2 separate regions of the Homo sapiens genome follow, and region 1 is linked to region 2. The links are contacts of gene promoters, found by promoter capture Hi-C in blood cells and fetal thymus (Javierre and others, 2016). All regions are on one chromosome and are shown on one strand. The core of a region is centred on a gene start or on the middle of the fragment in contact, and the rest is flanking DNA. Distances in the headings are between cores, read along the strand shown. Region 1 overlaps LOC105375630 (a long non-coding RNA gene). Region 2 holds the start of CNGB3 (cyclic nucleotide gated channel subunit beta 3).

Region 1 (2,769 bases), core at 18-2,517, 1.6 Mb before region 2:
CAGATATACATTTTTTTCTTTTAAATATTTTATGTGTTAATTATGTTTAATGTTCAGAAAAAAATGAATGCTTTATTTTTAAATTAAATTTTCTAATTTTTATTTAAGCCTTATATAAAATACAATAAGTGCTATGTGGCTTATTTTTCCTTTTTATTTCTTTAAAATCTAGATTCCCAAAACATCATACTTTGAATATTGATTGTAGCACTAAGATAAAAAGTACCTCTTTAGAATACATGACTTTTAGCTATTAGGTTTTTAAAATTTATTAATTAATATCTGTTATCTATCCTCAATATAAGCTTTCCTAGCTCACATGTAAATTAATGCTGATTCTACTTATACCACATACATTTTCCAACTTCTTTTTAAAATTAGTTTAATAAAACTGATTAAGTTATTACATTGAAATCTACTGGAACCAATTCATGACTTGAAACATAGTCTCTACATTAATTTCACATTACTACATTAAAACTTTGATTAGCTGAATATCTGAGGGGACAGAGAAAATAGTAGATAAACCAGAAAAAACACTTTGATCTTAATATTTGATATTAAAAAGTATTCTTAAATATAGTCCAGTTACAGCTTTAGGCAATACTTGTACTAAAAATCATCTCTTTCTTAGTTTTTTTAGAGCCTTGGGTGTTTTTCCCCCAGATACTATTGATTTTGTTATGGAATAATACCATAATTGTAGAATTTAAATAATTAAATGAGTATTGACACTAAGAATCTTTTTAAAAACTATTTTATTACTGATAGGAACAAATTGTCCTATATGAAGCTGAGTCCTTGAGGTGGTTGAGTGGTAGGTTGGAATCTGGGAATTATCATGGTAAAATTTAGACTTACATATTCAGAAAAGTAATAGAACATGAGTCATTTGGTCATCCAAAGGTGATACAACAGGTAATAAGGAGGCCAAAGGAAACTTGAAGCTGTTAAGCAAAGGCCTGGAACTAAACTGAGGCTTGCGAGAGTAGTAGATAAGATGGTTAAGCTCTGTTCCATTTGCTCTTGAGGAGCTTTACAATTCTAAAGGGATCAGAATGCTTCCTCATCAGTGGAGATTCTGTCACAGTTGGGGAAGAAGATGCTTATTCAATGATTTGGAGAGAAAACTGCTGATTTTGGCAAAGAATCACCACACACATTTTTTGAGATACAGTGGCTTGTAGTAATCTGCTGAGTAACTTATTGATGGCTTGTGGTTTCCAAGCCTCTTTTACCTTTGAGGCATTTTCCTATTTGCAGGTACTTCATTAATGATCTGTACTCATTTGTTAAGATCTGTCGTCTCCATACTTAGCTTCATGGTGTCAAGTGCTTTTGTTCATTTTGTCTTTCCCTCTTTCTCTGTTTCTAGAATAATGCCCAGCCTTTAGAAGGTGTTTAACAAAGGCTATTGACTGCATGAAAGAAAGACTGATTGACCCGAAGGCTTCCTTGTGTTAGATTTGGTGTTGGACATAATAGAATATATTTCTAAATTCCTATGGAATCATGTCCAGAGCACGGATTCCCTTAATTTCAGGTTCTGCTAATAGAAAATGTAAAATATTTTTCTATTATTATGTTATTTCAGCAAGTGTGAATTGTAGGTTAAAAAGAAAATTCTACTCAGTTGGAGGCTGATTAATTGAAGTTTTCTCTAACTGCTACAGTCATATCTTTAAAAGTGAGGGTATTATCCTAAAATTTAATGACAGTGATAATCATTCACGTTTATTAAGCAATATCAATGTTTGGGTACTCTCAGAAAACTTTTCAAGCATTATCTCCTTTAAGAGGACCACATAAATGCATTTAAAACTTGACATATGAAAGAAGTGAATGGGAAATAATGGCAATATATTATGTATATCTCACTCTTCAGTGGGTTCACAATGCCTGGAAAACTGTGCAAATATGCTGGTCATTGTTAAAAATAAAATGGATATTATTTAACCACTGATTATGAGCACATACTGCATCCAAAATGTGGTGTAAAATATTTCCTTGCTGTTGTTATCAAATCACTTTTCTGTCCATAGAATCCTGTTTGAAAGGGTACCCGAGAATCTGTTTTATTGTCTCAATCTCTATTCATTACTGCAGGTTCACCTAAATCTTTTCCTGCTCTCTGTATTTTTTTACCCTTGCTCAACCCTAGATATATTCCTGCATCCTTTCTGGAAGGAAACAAATAGAGTTGGATAAGCAAAGGGGAAAGAAGCTTGGAATGCCAAAGTCCTCTCCCCAGAGCAAGACAAGTTCCTCATGTTTATGTAGTTAATAGTAACTATTTTTTGATGCATTACTATGCTGAAAGCTTCTCCCTAATGTCCTACCAAAAACTCCTTTTCCATGAGGGTGAAAAAAAGAGAGAAAAGAATGACAGGAAATGAAAAAAATTTCTCATCCTATACACCCATTATGTAATTCTTAAAAGAATCATAAGAAGTAGAATAGAATGGCAATCATTAAAAAGTCTGGGAAAAAAACAGATGCTGGCAAGGATGCGAAGCAATAGAAACGCTTTTACACTGTTGGTGGGAGTGTAAATTAGTTCAACCATTTGGAAGACAGTGTGGTAATTCCTCAAGGATATAGAACCAGAAATACCATTTGACCCAGCGATCCGATTATGGGTATGTACCCAAAGGATTATACATCATTCTACTATAAAGACACATGCACATGTATGTTTATTGCAGCACTGTTCACAATAGCAAAGACTTGGAACCAACCCAAATGGCCATCAATGATAGACTAGATAAA
Region 2 (2,976 bases), core at 390-2,889:
CAAAAAGAAGGCAGTTTGGTTTGGGGACATCTTCGTTCCACATTCTCTTACAGAGCTTACATAGCACCTCTCTCTCCATTCTCCAGCCAGCCTGCTAAATTCCAGGCTTATTTACAATAAGCAATCTAGACAGACCAGAAATGTCCTGCTAAAAAAGTTTCATAAATAGGGACTCCCTGGTATCTTTCCACTGATAAATACTATGAGATTTATACGAAAGTCTGGTGAGGTCATTTTTTCCTCTGCAGGTCTTAGGAAGGGAAAAAATTAGTCACAGGCTGGCTGTTAACACCTTCCCTTCCTTTGGCTTAGCTTCTATGCTTATACCCAAAGTTCAAAATGTAATCAATTACAGGATTACAGGATTATCTGAAAAGTTCCTAAAATGGCCCTATACATATTTGATAATCTATTCAGAATTATTTCTGAAGCAATAATGGAACCAAAACACCCCCCACCATTTTTTAACAAAAATAAATAGCTTTGTGTTTCCAGGCCATATAAGTCAAATCATGTATTCAATTACGTTATTTATTAGGTAAGTTTATTTTTGATAAAATGGTTGAATCTAAAATTAAAACTTCTAATTTATTTTAAAAATCCATAAGGGAACTGCGATTTTGGTAATATGAAATCTAAATTAAAATGCTTTCTTCATAAATACTTAAAGGCTTTTTTCTGTATTAACTGTAATAAACGTATCTTAAAATACATAACTAGTATCTCAAGGAAATTTCCAGATTGCAAAAATACAGAGGGCAAGAAGTATTTGATGGGTTGACTTAGGCTGCCCTGGGTGTGGGTGTGTACCTTGTTGCATAAAGGCTTTGGTTTTAATTTGAAACTGCAGAAGATAAGTGCTCTCATTAAAAACAAAAACAAAAACAGAACCCCTTTAAAAAAAATCATGCGTCTTTGGTGCACTAAAAAATCTCATCCAACAGCATAGAACATCAACTTTGTCTGGGCTCCGGGCAAAGGGGAAAAAAAAGTTCTCTTTAACAAATCTTAGTCTTGTATCTTTGCCTCACACAGGTTTGGGGTCAAAAGTGACACACACACACACAGAGGCAGAGTAGAATAAGCAGATTTTTTTTTGTTTAGCCATGTGGAAATCAACCACCAGAAGAACAGAAAAAGAAAGCTTAAAAATAGTGGCCTAACATTGCAGGACCAGAGAAGGGGATTTTGAGGAGTGAATGAGTTGCTTCATATCATAAGCCCTCATGGATTTTTTTTAATCATTTCCATATTACTTTGCATAAAGTTAGACAGATAAAGATAAGTAGGTGGGTAATTAGAAGGAAAAAAAAAGAAAGAAAACAATGTGTTGTGTGATCACATTTAAACCATTCAAATCAACTATGAAGCTGTGTTTAATCCTCTACTTCTAAATTATTCACAAGATCATTTTGACTCCCTAAAGTTCATAAACAGAGTGCAAATCACCCAAGCAGAAGTATTTTGCTGCTTTTAAGCCAAAGCCCTGACTAGCTAAGGAGTTGCCTGTAGGAATTAACCAGAACAAAATCCTGATTAAACAGCTAATTGGCTTGTCTACTAAAGAAAAGGAAAACAAAGTACATTTCTCTACCTTAAGGCACAGTCATAAATACAGAGGGTTTTCAGAACCACCTCAGAGAAGATGTTTAAATCGCTGACAAAAGTCAACAAGGTGAAGCCTATAGGAGAGAACAATGAGAATGAACAAAGTTCTCGTCGGAATGAAGAAGGCTCTCACCCAAGTAATCAGTCTCAGCAAACCACAGCACAGGTATGTCCTCTACATTCCTATGCAAGCCTTGATTTTCATCATTTCTTATCTGGTAATAGCATTTAATCACTGCTACGATATATGATTGTTTAGTAGTTTTACCTGGCACCATCTGGTACATGTACTGTGTCGGGCTTATCTTCATTAATTTATATATTCTGTATGTATTTGTTCATAAAAAGAATAATAAATGTTTAGGAGACTATACTAGGATTTGGAAAAGCCAAGTAAGACTTCTCATTGCTGATTTTCACTTCTACCATCATCCAAAATGAAACCATTTCTCAAATATTAAATTGGTTACTTGATTGAGTTTCAACAAAGAACATCAAGTATCCTGGTCTTCATAAACCACATGTTAACAATAAATCTCTAGAGCAATAGGAAACCTATTGGCTCTCAATTGAGAGCGATTTTACCACTCAAGGGACATTTGGCAAATCTGGGGACACTTTCAGTTGTCATAGCTCCGGGGTGGGGATGTTACTGGCATCCAGTGGGTAAAGTCTGCAGATGCTGCTCAACATCCTATCATGTACAGGACAGCCCTCCACAACGTAGAATTATACACTACAAAATTTTAATACTGCCAAGGTGGAGGAACTTTAAACAAGCCTTTTCACAAGTTCTAAATATATTTTTCTGCAAAATGTATATGATAATTTCTGCTTTGTTATGAGAACTAGAGACAGTAATATATAAAGCACATGGTAGGTACTTTACAAGTGGCTATTATTATTATTAATAAGAATTTGTGTTTCTGTGACAGGTTTAAGTCCTAAGTGATCATTACAAGAGCAATATTTACTTAGAACTATCCACAGAATAATTTTCGTGAATTACTCACTAGAATTATCTAAAAGAGCTACAGAAGATTTTTAGAGCAGTAGTTATTTTGCCATCTGAAACAGCTGGATGAGAGATGACAAGTACAAGCAGGAGTGCTCCTCAGGGACTAGGGGAGCATAGTCCAATGGTTCGGGTTTAAATGAGCCTAGAGGATAGACAACACTGAGACTATTTAACATGGGCCGTGGAAAATCTGCCTTCCTTTTCTGATTAATGTTGACTGCTTTGCAGTAGAGAGGAGATGAGGAGGACTGTGTTAGTATTGCTTCGAGAGAGTGCCCTTGACTTCTTTCTAATTCTTATGTCAAAATAAATAATCCCACACTAAGTTATCTATATGTTTAAGAACTCAT

What was found. The method cuts DNA at HindIII sites, captures the fragments that hold promoters and counts their contacts. A CHiCAGO score of 5 or more calls a contact.
Region 1: a contact is called between a fragment that was not itself captured here and the fragment with the promoter of CNGB3 in region 2, in 1 of 17 cell types (M1 macrophages). The highest score is 5.1, in M1 macrophages.

Annotation. Positions count from the first base shown.
Region 1 is chr8:88,391,793-88,394,561 of GRCh38, reverse strand. The region is part of intron 2 of LOC105375630 (a long non-coding RNA gene); the gene reads right to left. Among named protein-coding and RNA genes, the nearest start is that of MMP16, 66 kb to the right of the region's middle. The HindIII fragment of the contact is 1,919 bases long and covers 308-2,226 here.
Region 2 is chr8:86,742,297-86,745,272 of GRCh38, reverse strand. It overlaps CNGB3 (cyclic nucleotide gated channel subunit beta 3), which reads left to right and starts at 1,639. Exons shown (of 18, transcript NM_019098.5): 1 at 1,639-1,774. The coding sequence starts at 1,646. The HindIII fragment of the contact is 3,976 bases long and covers 1,147-2,976 here.